Linked DNA regions of Homo sapiens: region 1 is linked to region 2. Evidence: promoter capture Hi-C in human tissues and cell types (Jung and others, 2019). All regions are on one chromosome and are shown on one strand. The core of a region is centred on a gene start or on the middle of the fragment in contact, and the rest is flanking DNA. Distances in the headings are between cores, read along the strand shown.

Region 1 (6,190 bases), core at 1,131-3,630, 480 kb after region 2:
AAAAAAAAAAAAAAAAGAACAGATCAGTGATTTAAGGAAACCCTGTTTGTGCCTTTATTTTGATGTTCAATTTATGGAAAAATTGGAAAATACTCCTTTAAATTTAGTCAATATGTTCACATACAGAATTTTTTTTAACAACATTAATTTTTACAAAACTTCCACAACTTGTTCAAACCTTTAGCTTATTCTTATCTAAAACAATCCTTTAGCTCTCTAAACTATGCAAAAATTTACATTCCCATGCTTTCTTAGAATCTTTTACCAAAAACACATTTCATTCTCCTCACACACCTTGCATGTAAAACTATTTCTTCAGTAGTCTCAATCACGTGTTACAATGGTAACTCTTAGCAACTTTTACTTTTGGTGCATAAATTTTCTTTCACAAATCCTTTCACAATGTACACAAGCCATCTACAACATGCATGGACTTTCTGACTTGTCCTAAACATCCCTCTTTTTAAACAACAAGTTATTTTACTGGTTGTCCCCAGGCCTTATTTGGATTTTTTTTTTTTTTTTTTTTTTTGGAGACAAAGTCTCACTCACTCTGTCACCCAGGCTAGAGTGCAGTGGTCTGATCTTGGCTCACTGCAACTTCTGCCTCCCAGGTTCAAGTGATTTTTCTGCTTCAGCCCCCTGAGTAGCTGGAATTACAGATACATGCCACCACACCCAGCTAATTTTTGTATTTTTCATAGAGACATGGTTTCTCCATGTTGGCCAGGCTGCTTTCGAACTCCTGGCCTCAAGTGATCCACCTGCTTTGGCTTCCCAAAGTGCTGGGATTACAGGTATGAGCCATGTGCCTGGCCCTTATTTAGAATCTAATGCTCCAAAGTAGGTAAATTGAATAATTTTCAAAAGCCTAAGAAGCAGTTTATGACCTTAAAGCATTTAGCAAATCAAATATCTAACCTGCCTAATTTAGACCAAATGTCTTTATTTTACCAATAGTCTTTAAAGCTGTTTTTATTTCCCCAAGATTACTAAAGTTATGTGAACTAAGACATTACAGTTTTTACTTTTCTGCCAAAATATTTGATTTAAGTGCTTAGTTTTCTTAAAGCCAATTAATTAGAGCTCTTTTATATAAACATCACACACACAACACATATATAACTGCACAGACAGACAGAAGTAGTTGTAAGATTTTTCATTTGCCAATTTTTAAGTTGTGTGTATGCGTGTGTGTGTTTTTTGTCTTGAGACAGAGTCTCACTCTGTCACCGAGGCTGGAGTGCAGTGGCGTGATCTTGGCTCACTGCAACCTCTGCCTCCTGGGTTCAAGCGATTCTCCTGCCTCAGCCTCCTAAGTAGCTGGGATTACAGGTGTGTACCACCACACCAGGCTAATTTTTTGGATTTTTAGTAGAGACGGGGTTCCACCATGTTAGCCAGGCTGGTGTCAAACTCCTGACCTCGTGATCCACCTGCCTCAGCCTCCCAAAGTGCTGGGTTTACAGGCATAACCCACTGTGCCCAGCCAAGTTTTAAGTTTTTTAAGTTGGATTACTGGCTTTAGAGTGGAGTCCTAGGGTGGAAGAACAGGGCCAGGAAAGCCTGCAATTTCTAGAGCCTAATAAGCAGGCACAGTTGGAAGGGAAAAACAGATCCCATTTTTACACCAGATCCTGGATCCTAAAAAGAACAGAGCCTTAGATTTTGAGGAGGATCTATCCATTTCCAATTCCTGAGGTTCCATGAGGAAAAGGGATTTTTTTCCAAAACAGGTCTCTGGAGCCTCCTGTTTTTCCCAAGGAGTCCCAGGCTGTTAGAGCTTTAATATCCAGTTTTAATTAAGCTGACTTTTAACTATAGTGCTCTTTTTAAAATTCCTTTTAAATCTTTTATTATGCAGCCTTGCCTAGGCCAAATGCACAGTATTTCTGTGCTCAGAGAAAGGAAAATTTAAGATGGTTCATGGAGGGGAAGAGAATCAACAAATGGTAAGGATTACACAGATATCAAACCAGAAAGTACTCATTTCCTAAGGGAATTGAACCCTGAACCTGGGCCTCCATTATGAAAAGGGAAAGCATGGCCACATGGTTATAAGGTCAGGCTCCCAAGGACATGACTGACCAGTTTTCTGGGCCATCTTGAACAGTGGGTTTATGGTGTCCTAGACACATGCTTTATCCTAAGGTACTCCCTTTCACGACAGAACAATACAGAAAGACACATAAAGCACACCAGGTTCACTACAGCTTAAGACCAGCCTCAGAATTCTTTTTTGTGTTAATCAAAACTTTAGAGAGGAGATAAACAGTGATTTTTACCATTTATTTAACCAGTTTTCACAGAGAGAGAAAGGTCAGAGTCCGACTGGTAATAAATTCTTACCCTTTTGCGGGCATGCCAGGCTCCTGGGTTCCCTTTCCCTGAGCAACCCTAGTGACCCTGCTTGCCACACTATAGCCCTGGGGGCCAAGCCACATCATAAAGGAAAATCATCTTTTTTTGTTTTATGGAATCAGGCAAAAGCCTCTCAGTTTTGCAAGTTGCTGCTCAAGGGGTTGCATGGGGTAACCCAATTAACATTTTTCATTCTGGCCAGAGGAAAATATGAGTGACAAAACATAGACATTGGCCACGCTGTTTAGCACCCAATATTGAACTGGCAAGGCTTGCCCTCAGTTGGACCCTGTCATCTTTAATCTATTTTTAACCAAGAGGGACTTTACTGAGGGGAGGCCCTCTAACTCAATCCCATCCTTTACTCAAGTAAAATGTACCCCATTACTTATCCAAAGTCAGCCAATTGGTGCTGCAGTGTATTTCCTTTGGATCAGGATTCCTGTGCCTAATATATAAACTGGAAGGAACTCAGTTTTTCAGAAATTAAGAATTCCGGCTGGGCATGGTGGCTCATGCCTGTAATCCCAGCACTTTGGGAGGCCAAGGCGGGTGGATCACCTAAGGTCAGGAGTTCAAGACCAGCCTGGCCAACATGGCAAAACCCCATCTCTACTAAAAATGCAAAAATTAGCCAGACATGTTGGTGAGTGCCTGTAATCCCAGCTATTCAGGAGGCTGAGGCAGGAGAATCACTTGAACCCAGGAGGTAGAGGTTTCAGTGAGCTGAGATGGTGCCATTGCACTCTAGCCTGGGCGACAGAGCGAGACTGTCTCAAAAAAAAAAAATTGTGAAAAGGTACCCCTGTATAGGGCACTCACCAGGGATGGAGCCTTGTGGGACTGGAAGTCGCCCTGGGTGAGTCAGTGAGTCGGTGAGTGAGTGGTAAGTGAACCTGAAGGCCTAGGGCAGTACTGTGCACTATAGCAGACTTTATAAATGTGTGTACTTAGGCTACACAAATTTATAAAATATATTTTATTTCTTCAATAACAAACTATGTTTAGCTTACTGTAACATTTTTACTTCAGAAACTTTTCAATTTTTTTAACTTTCAACTCTTTTTTTTTTTTTTTTTTTTTTTGAGACAGAGTCTCGCTCTGTCACCCAGGCTGGAGTACAGTGGCGCAATCTCAGCTCACTGCAACCTCCACCTCCAGGGTTCAAGCAATTCTCCTGCCTCAGCCTCCCGAGTAGCTGGGGTTACAGGTGTGCGCCACTATGCCCGGCTCATTTTTGTATTTTTAGTAGAGATGGGGTTTCACCATGTTGTCCAGGCTGGTCTTGAATTCCTGACCTTGTGATCTGCCCGCCTTGGTCTCCCAAAGTGTTGGGATGACAGGCGTGAGCCACCATGCCCAGCCACTTTCAACTCTTTTGTAATAACACTTAACTTAAAACACAAACACATTGTACAATCATACACAAATATTTTCTTTCTTTATATTCTTATTGTATAAACCTTTTTCTATTAATTTTTTTTTTTTTTTTTACTTCTTAAACATTTTTTTCAGAAACTAAGACACAAACACACACATTAGCTGAGACCTGCTACACAGGGTCCCGATCAGTGATATCATTACCTTCCACCTCCAACTCCTGTCCCACTGGAAGGTCTTCAAGGACAGTAACACTAATGGAGCCGTCACCTCCTGTGATGACAATGCCTTCATCTGGAATCCCTTCTGAAGGACCTGCCTGAGGCTGTTTTATCACTAACTTTTTTTTTAATAAGTAGGAGTATGCTCTAAAATAATGATTAAAAAGTAAAATACAGTAAATACATAAACTGGTAATGTTACTGGAAAGGGGTCATGATCCAGATGCCAAGTGAGGATTCTTGGATCTCGGGCAAGAAAGAACTCGAGGCGAATCTGTAGAGTAAAGTGAAAGCAAGTTTATTGGAGAAGCGAAGAAACAAAAGAATGGCCACTCTGTAGGCAGAGTAGCCCTGAGGGCTGCTAGTTGCCAATTTTTATGGTTATTTCTTGATGATATGGTAAATAAGGGATGGATTATTCTTGTCTCCCCTTTTCGACCATGTAGGATAACTTCCTGATGTTGCCATGGCATCTGTAAATTGTCATGGCGCTGGTGGGAGTGTAGCAGTGAGGACGAACAGAGGTCACTCTCATGGCCATCTTGGTTTTGGTGAGTTTTGGCCGACTTCTTTACTGCAACCAGTTTTATCAGCAAGGTTTTTATGACCTGTATCTTGTGCCGACCTCCTAATTTATCCTGTGACTTAGAATGCCTTAACTGTCTGGGAACGCAGCGCAGTAGGTCTCAGCCTTATTTTACCCAGTCCCTACTCAAGATGGATTTGCACTGGTTTCAATGCCTCTGACAGTAACACAGTCGTTTATTAATAGGATCAAGTATTATGTACTGTACATAATTGCATGTGCTGGGCTTTCATCCGACTGGCAGTGCAGTGGGTTTGTGTACACCAGCATCACCACACACAGAGAGGAATGTGTGCGATGACGTCATAGCTGATGTGACGTCACTAGGCGAGGGGGATTTTTAGGTCCTTTTTTTTTTTTGAGACGGAGGCTTACTCTGTTGCCCAGGCTGGAGTGCAGTAGCACGATCTCGATTCACTGTAACCTCCGTTTCCCGGGTTCAAGCGATTCTCCAGCCTCAGTCTCCCGAGTAGCTGGGATTACAGTCTCACGCCACCACACCCAGCTAATTTTTGTATTTTTAGTAGAGACGGGGTTTTGCCATGTTGGCCAGGCTGGTCTTGAACTCCTGACCTCAGGTGATCCACCCGCCTCGGCCTCCCAAAGTGCTGGGATTACAGGCGTGAGCCACCACGCCCGGTCCCATTATCATCTTATGGGACCACAGTCATAGATGCAGCTCGTTGCTAAGTGAACTGTGATGCAAGGCACATGCACGTGCTTAGTTCTGTTGCTACACAGAGTGTATAGGAAAAAACTGGTTTGTCCCTCCCATCCCCGATTCCAGCTTCAGTTCCACCAGTCCTAGAGGTGTGCACTGAACCGGCTTTTTAGGACACTCTCCCGCTCCCACCGCCGCCATAGACACATATCTTAAACACACACATGTCATTGGGAAAATGATTAAAAACAAAATCTGTCAACCCAGAAAACCTCTCCACAAAGGTAACAGGAAGTTAGTTTTGCTACAACTAGACAGCAGTGTGCATCACAGACAGTCGGCTAAAGAGATTGCAAAGAAAAAGAGCTTTCATAGCCTGGCAGACACCACCCACTCCATACGTGCTAATTTCCCAAATGCCTCCTGTCTTTTGACAAGAAGTTTACTTCCTGAAGCGAGCACCTGGGCCTCACACTCCTGAGGATGGGGGAGATCCGGCGCCACCTCCTGGCTGTTTCCAAGGCGGAGAGAAGGAGCCCGGGGCTGCAAAACCTGTCAGAGGATCCCAGACTGAGGCGGACTCAGGGAGGTTTCCCACGCCTAAGATTTCATCCCTAACCAATCAGCGATCACCACTCCAAAACCCTTGAAAGCCCCCCCCAACTCCTCAGCGAGATTGAGTGATAACTCAATCTCCAGGGTGGCCGGCCTCGGGTCATAAACTATTTCTTTACTGCAATAATAATGATACAATAAAATAAATTTACATACATCTCAAGGAGACAGAGGTAGCGTTTACAATTTCAGCTTTATTAAAGGAAGTAGGAAGTGGGAGGGGGTGCCTTATTCCCTTTCTTTGCACCGGAAAAAATACAATTTTTTTCTCTAGATTTGTGTTTACCAACAACACACACACATACTCATATACACACATATGTACATATACCCCATTCACACACAGATATACACAATATATGTACA
Region 2 (7,024 bases), core at 263-2,762:
AACAAAACAAAACAACAACAACAACAAAAATACACACAGTAACACATGCCTAGATACATGCACATACACACGCAAACACACACTCCAAAACACACCCATTCATAGACATGCCACACACTGCTACAGACACATGGGCAAACACCTGGAAATCCCCACCCCTCATTACATGAGTCTCTGACATGATGACCCCACAGACACAGAGCCAAAGGGACGCACAACCATTTCCACAGACACACTCTCTTGTGCCAAATTCCAGGGTCATGAAATAGCCACACTGTGACCTACTGCCCAATACACAAACTCTCAGGAACCCACAAGAAGAAATGAACATACTCATACACCCAGTTTTGCAGACACTCCTGTGTGCTCCTAAGTGCACACAGACACACCTGGGCACACAGGACATAGACTCTGAGCCACATGCATAGAACACACACACAATGCAATAGTCACCACCAGATTTGGAGAAAGACCTATGGACAGCAGGGGTCACAAAGACCAGGGGACAGAAACACTCCTCTGGGGCACACCTGGGCACGGGAGCACAGATTTCCCAGTCCTTCCAAGCCCAAGCACTTTCCCTCTGGGCTCAAGGTCCCCAGGCCACTTTCACTCTCCCTGATCTGCTGGAATGGGAATCAGGGGTGGGGGTGGGGGGACGCTGACTGGTTGAATCCCTTAGTAAGAACTTTGGCAGCACAAGGACTGGACTGTCTTTGCCCACAAACCCAGGGGCCTTCTGGGGATGAGGACTCCCACACTCACTTTCTCCCCCCCTCCTGACTCCCACTTCTGTGAACAAGCCCTCTGCACACTTCCTTGCTTCCCCCATTGTGAGAGTCTGCCCCAAGGAGATGGGCCAGGGGGACACCAGACAGTGGACTTCTAAAGTGCTCAGGGGGTCCCCCAGCGTTAGGAACTGGAGGGGGGGTGGGACAGGGAGAGGGGCTGCGCCTGCACTTAGCTAAACAAGCCTGGCAGTGAGGGCGTCCTGAGTGTGAGCCCGAGTGCCGAGTTGCATCTGATTGTATGGCCATGTGTGTCGGTGTGACCCAGGCCGTCTGTCTGAGGATGTCCTCGCGGCCACAGCTGTGTGCACATGTGCAGGGATGTGTGCGTGTCCGTGTGAGCACTCCTGGAAGTGGGTTGAAGACAGAGGAGCGGGCGTCTGTGTACCATTATCAGTGAGTGCGTGTGCTCACAGCTCCTGAGGGTCCCCGGGGAGAGTCTCAGTAAAGACGTGTCCCAAGCTTTCTGAGCAAGCATCCCTGAGGTCAGGGGCGCGCGTGTGCGCTCCGGAGAGGGTGGGAGCGGCCTGGAGTGTGGATGCACAGGGTGTGCGCGCCCTGAGTGCCTAGCGGCCCTTGGCCGGCCAGGCGGCTGGACCTGGTAGGCCGGGTGCAGAGCCCCGGGTACCCTCCTGCCCCCTGCGGCGCTCCCGCCCCCGTCGCCACCCCCTGCCCCCCCGCAAAGTGATGTCGAAATAAAAAGCCGCGTTGCGGCCGGTGGGGGAGAGAGAGGCAGCGTGAGCGCCAGGAAGGTAGCGAGGCCAGCGTCGCCCCGGGACTCGCTGCTCAAGTCTGTCTATTGCCTGCCGCCACATCCATCCTAGCAGGGCCCCGTCGCCCACCAGGCGGACAAAAGCGGTCCGCTGAACACCATGCGGCCGCTCGGCGTGCCGCCCAGGCTCTGCTGGTGAGCGCCGCCACCCCGCGCCCAGGTCCCGCGAGCCCGCCTGCCGCGCACCTCGCCCTGCTCCCAGCTCTACTCCAGGCCCCGTCCGCCCGGGGGCGCCGCCCACCGCGCCTCGCTCGGTGAGTTTCTTCCACTTCCACCTTCCCTGGGCCCGGCCCTTCCCGCCCCCGGCCCGGCCCGCCTGGCACCCGAATCGCTTGGTCCGTTTGCCCTGTGGCCCCTACCTTTGGGGCTCGCCTTGGCCCTGCCAGAGACCGGAAACCCTGGTTATAGGGACTTTAACCAGAGGGAGTATTTGGTTACCTGGGCACAGCAGGCCCGCCTCGGGCCTCTTGTCTTCCCATTTCTCGGAGCCACAGGCCACGAGACCCTGGCATTCCCAGAGCCTCGCAAAGCACCCCCGCCTCCCGGCCCCCGAACTGGGGCCTTTGTCTCGGCCGCCCCCAATCCCCAGGCCACCGCGGCGGATGCGTCCGAGCCGGGCCGCCGAGCGGCGGCTGCACCTGCCGGCTGGTCCCGTGCGCCGGCTTTTCGCGGCTTAACCCAGCTCGCTCCTGCTTGCGCCCCCGCGCGCTGCGCCCCGCAGCCCTTTATCCTGTGTGACTGGGGTGCGTGTGGGGGAGAGCGCCGGGTCTGGAAGTCTCCCCCCGCCCCAAGCCGGAGTCGGAATCCGTTTAGTGGGATTTCAATAAGAATGGGGCCGCCGCGGGCTTGAAGATCTGCCGCCGGTAGGCGTAGACGGCGTTCTGGATCTGTCTGAAAACGGGGCATTTAAAATTATTCTGTGGCGGCCAGGCTTGAACTCCGCGTTGCTCCAACCACGAGGGGAAAGGCCCCGCGTTCAGGGACCCCGTGTGTGGCGAACGCTCCTTTACCGGAAAACAAGGAAGGAAATTCGTTGTTTTGGAAAAAGCCTCCTCTCCCGAGGTCGGGAACATCTGGTGGTGAGCTCCAGGTCTACGCAGGCACCCCGTGCTAGGATTCGTTTATGAGCAGGCAGGATTCGAGAACCAGGTAGGGCCCGTGCGGCAGCCGAGGCGTCTGGGGAGCGTTTCCCAGCCGGGCTGACAAATTGCAGACAAATTGTGCCTAACGAAACGGATTTACCAGTTGTCAGGCCGCCGGCCCCGGCCGCTCCAAATAAACCGTGGCTGTTCGTGGAGGAGGGAGAAGCACGGCCCGATTGTCTCCGGGTCTCAGCAGGGTTCCGCGGGGAGCCTGCCAGGCTTGAAGGTAGGGGTCAGAAGCGATATAGAATCTCGGAGGCGCCTGGGTCCAGGGTGCCGAGACACCTAGGACGTGGGGGCCACAGACTCTACGATTCCCAAAGACACAGAACAGTAATGAGGTGGGAGAGCCTGCACTGATGCCGAGGGAGGGAGCCTTCTGCTTTAAGGGGCTGGAATTGAACCTCAAGGAGCAGGAGGGGCCGTTATAGCAGTAGTCCCCCCCTTGGGAACCCCCCCGGAGGGATGGCTGCTGGCCTGAGATCTAATGCCCCGGCTTTAAGGGAACTTCTGAACCCATCTGCTAAGGCACCCCACTTCCTCCCCGTACCCCTCAAGGTTTATTGCCAGTGTGGGGCTGGGAGGCCGCTGGGTTGCGAATTAAATTTCTCTATGGAAGGTAGTCCCTTAGCAAATGGGTTTCCTTGACACCCCACCCCCAGCCCCACACCGCGGGCCAATTAGCTGCCCATAAGGAAAAGGCGAGAAGAATTAGGTTACAAAGGGAGGGCAAACTTATGGTCCCAAAGGGGCCGCCTCGGATGAGCTAACTTTAAACAAAGGGCTCAGAGGGGGGGGGGGGCTGGACGGCCGGGGAGACCTGGGCATCTCTGTGTCCCCACCTGGCACCCGCGGCTTAGTAGAGGCCTGAGAAGCACTCTAGAACCGGGCACCAGATCTGCTACCTCCCCAGCTCCCAGGCAGAAGCACCCAGGTCAAATGGTGGCGATCGCCGCTGTGAGTTCTCGGGCCAAAAGGGTCCTTCGAAAATTCTGCTTCCTGGCTGACCTTCTCCAGTCCTCAGAGAAATCTTGTTCCCAAGTAAGGAAAGTGACAGCTTCTTAATGTGATCAAAGGCAGCGCCAGCATTTCCAACTATACTCCCGAACGAACAAAGTACTGAAAAAGGGAACGCGTCCCTCTAAAGGTGTTTTGGGGACCCCAAAGTTCCAGCCCATAAATTGGAGTAAATCTGCTCTCACCAGGCCTGGAACAGCGCCTCAAGACCCCAGCAGATTCTGGGGGCTGCGTTGACCCTCCCCGGGAGTTTGTTTGGGGCCCAAGGTGGGAGGACCATGTCTTCGGCCTAATGGGGAGGGGCCCGGTTGGTGTCCCTCGGTCTGCCTGGCACACACAGACATTGTCGAGCGCGGGTCCCTCTTTATTGGCCAGCTGGGCGCCCTGCTACTTGGCGTCGCATTTCTCTCTCCCAGGCGGGTTCGTTTCCGCCAGAGAATGCAGCAGTCCCGCATCCTACGCAGGACCTGCAACCGAGGTGGAGGCTTCGGTCAAGCCGGCTCCTGCCTGCGTTGTCGAGGAAGGCAACCCCAAGGCCTGAAAGGACCTGGCAGAACTCCTGTTTCCTTTTTTTCCTCTACACCGGATTGCGGGCAAGGAGGCTGGTTCGGGTCTCCCGAGGCCCCTGCTCAAGCACTCCTTAACCGTCCTGCTAAGCCCCTCTGTGCGGCGATTTTCTGAGCTGCCGAGCGGGGTAATTAAATCCCCTCCCTCGCTCCGCTCTGCGTCAGGCAGGCGGCAGCACAGGGCTGACGTTTGGGCAGGGGACTCAGCCAGGCTGGCCACCTCCACTACCGCAGTGGCCGGGACCCTGCCGCGGAGGGGTTAGACGCCGAGCTCGCTGCGCTGAAACTGGGAATACACACGGAACGGGGAGGGGGAGGGTAATTTTTACCGCGCCGGTGGGAGAAAAAGGCGAATTACCTGCTTTCCCGAGGGACGCGCGTAGCCACTTCCCTGAGAGCCGCGGCACCGATCGCGGCCGGGCGGGAAGCTTCCGCTCGGTCCTGGCGTTCACAGCCCAGCGGCCAGCTGCTGGTCTGCCTCCCGCGCTGGGTCCCAGGGTTCGCGCTCGAGCGGGGCAGCTTTGCCGGACACGGGGGATTATCCCTGGGGACGCGGTGTCTTTCAGAGGGTCTTGCTAGTCTCCGGAGACGCCAAATAGGCTCGAGCTCCGCGGCGATCTCATTTTACGAGTTGATGAAGAATCGTAAGCTAAAGGATGGGAAAAGTTGAGAGACAGACGGACGGAGAGACAGTGGGCCCCGGCGGGACCGCACGCGTTGAGGGGAACGCCAACCGGGAGGCACGGAGACTGCTCACCTGCCCGGCCTGGCCGCGGAGGCCCGGCGCCAAGGGCCTCGCGCTCGGCCTCCCGCCCCCTGCGCGGCTTCCCGGGCTGGCGCCGGCCTCCGCTCCCGCAGAGTGGAGTTCCGAGCAGACCGGGCTCCGCGCGCTCCAGCGTGGAGGGGAGCGGGAGGCTTAGCAGGCGGCTCGGGCAGGCGGGTCCCCCAAGGGCACGAGACGCGCTGGTTCCCAGCCCAATGGAGCTCTGCGCCCCCCAGCCCCGCGCTTTACCTGCGCTGAGGCCTCGGACAGACAAACGGACGCCAGACGCCTAGGCAGGAGGAGGCCTCAGCCTGAGCCCGCGGCCCCTTGGCGCTGCCCTGAACTGGCCTGGGAGGGGGTGACGGGGGCGCGCCCGCGGAGCTGGGCCCAGCCGGGCGCCCCCGGAGCCGAGGGGACCGAGGGCTTTCCTCCCTCCTCGGATTATTAAAAAGTTCATTTCCTGGCGAATCGGGTGACGTCAGGGGCTCGGCGTCGCGGTGGCGGGGCCGCCCGGCCGGAGAAGCCGCCTCCAGTTACCCAATTACCGACTGTCAATCCCGCCGCCCCTCCCCCACTCTCCCGGGGGTGGCCGGGACCCCAGCCCTCCTCCTGCCCCCGACCCACCTGGGGGCCCTCTGGACATCTACCCCGGGAGCCTCGGGCCCAACAGGGAAGAGGGCTGGAGGACGCTGTTGAGTCCCCCCAGTACTCGGCACCTGTCTAGGTCCCCCAAAATGCCTTTGTCCTGGACCTCCCTCCTCGGCCCGGGGCTCCCTTCGAGCCTCCGTCTCCCCAGTCTGTACAATGGGAGGGAGGAAGACTTGTGCGCCCGGCCCACACGAACCATAGAGCCGATCTCCGGGCTAGAAGTGAGTGGGGAGCACTTCCAGGTGACTTAGAAGACGGAGACCTCAGACCACCGCCTCCCCCTCACCAGAGGCCACCTCGGGGACCCCCCCCGGAGGAAAAAAAATGCCACCTCTTGCCCGGGGGCGTCTCCCTCCAGCTGGCGCCGGCGCCAGTCCGGGTCTCCACGGCCTCGCCCCAGGCAATTGGGCCCGTTGGCCTGCGAAGGCCACGCCCGGGGAGGGGTGCCCCCTCCCCCTTTCTGGAGCCACCGGCCGGGCCACCTCCACTGGGTCAAGCACAGCCCTGAGCGGCCGCGTGTCCGAGGCCCAGGTGCCCTCTAGAGCCCTGTAGTTCCTGCCCCTCTCTGCCCCTCTCGGCTCCTGCTGTTCCGCCGCTGTCGTCCGAACCATCCCAACCCCCAGTCCACCCAGACAGCGCCCGAGCTAGGGGAGGGAACGGTCTGGGTAGGTAACTGCGCTCGGACTGACCACGTTCAGCGGTGAAGGAGCGTGGCGGGGTTAGGGTCTCGGGGAGAGGCCATCCAGAGGGTGTGCGGCCCGGGCTCCTGGGGAGGGGGCAGTTGGTGGTTAGTTACTGCTAGGGAGGCCCAGAGCATCGAGGGATCCCGGAGTGTTCGCAAGAGGGGCTGCAGGGGTCGGGCCTTGGGGTGAGGGTCCCTTAGTGGTGGGGCGCGTTGGCAGCAGGGGCCGCCAGGAGCGCGCAGGGAGGGGGCCCGCCGGCTGAGGGGGGCCGGCCCGCGGGTCAGTCCCGGAGTCCAGCGGTTCGGGAATTGCGGACGCAGCCAATGGGAGGCGGAGGCTGGGAGGCGCGCGGCGTTGATTGGCTGGCTTGGGCTTCTTAGGCGTGCGCGGCCCCCGCTTCATGTCTGTGCAGGAGTCGGCAGCTGGCGCCAGGGCGGCCGGAGGATGCCGAGGGGCCGGAGCCGGGAGGGCCCGAGGCCGAGGCGCACTCTACCCCCAGCTCCTACCCTGTAAGCCCCGCCAGCCTCCGGACGTGCTGTCCCTGGGCCCGTCGCCCTCGGGGCTCCCGCCGGAACTCCTTCACTCTCAGAGGCCGAGTCCCTCCCCTCCCCACGGCTGCGTGTGTAAGTTTGGGGTTTGAGAGCC

What was found. The method cuts DNA at HindIII sites, captures the fragments that hold promoters and counts their contacts. A contact is called where the count stands out against the background at its distance.
Region 1: a contact is called between a fragment that was not itself captured here and the fragment with the promoter of GATA2 in region 2, in 1 of the 25 tissues and cell types used here (lymphoblastoid cells).

Annotation. Positions count from the first base shown.
Region 1 is chr3:128,010,914-128,017,103 of GRCh38, reverse strand. No RefSeq gene overlaps it. Among named protein-coding and RNA genes, the nearest start is that of SEC61A1, 38 kb to the left of the region's middle. RefSeq lists an enhancer at 5,059-5,559. The HindIII fragment of the contact is 7,137 bases long and covers 1-5,948 here.
Region 2 is chr3:128,487,689-128,494,712 of GRCh38, reverse strand. It overlaps GATA2 (GATA binding protein 2), which reads left to right and starts at 1,512. Exons shown (of 6, transcript NM_032638.5): 1 at 1,512-1,814. It overlaps GATA2-AS1 (GATA2 antisense RNA 1), which reads right to left and starts at 5,510. Exons shown (of 3, transcript NR_125398.1): 1 at 5,043-5,510; 2 at 4,644-4,934. RefSeq lists silencers at 1,713-1,802, 6,687-6,886, enhancers at 3,574-4,383, 4,384-5,195, 5,196-6,006, 6,974-7,024 and a cis regulatory region at 5,261-7,024. The HindIII fragment of the contact is 13,259 bases long and covers 1-7,024 here.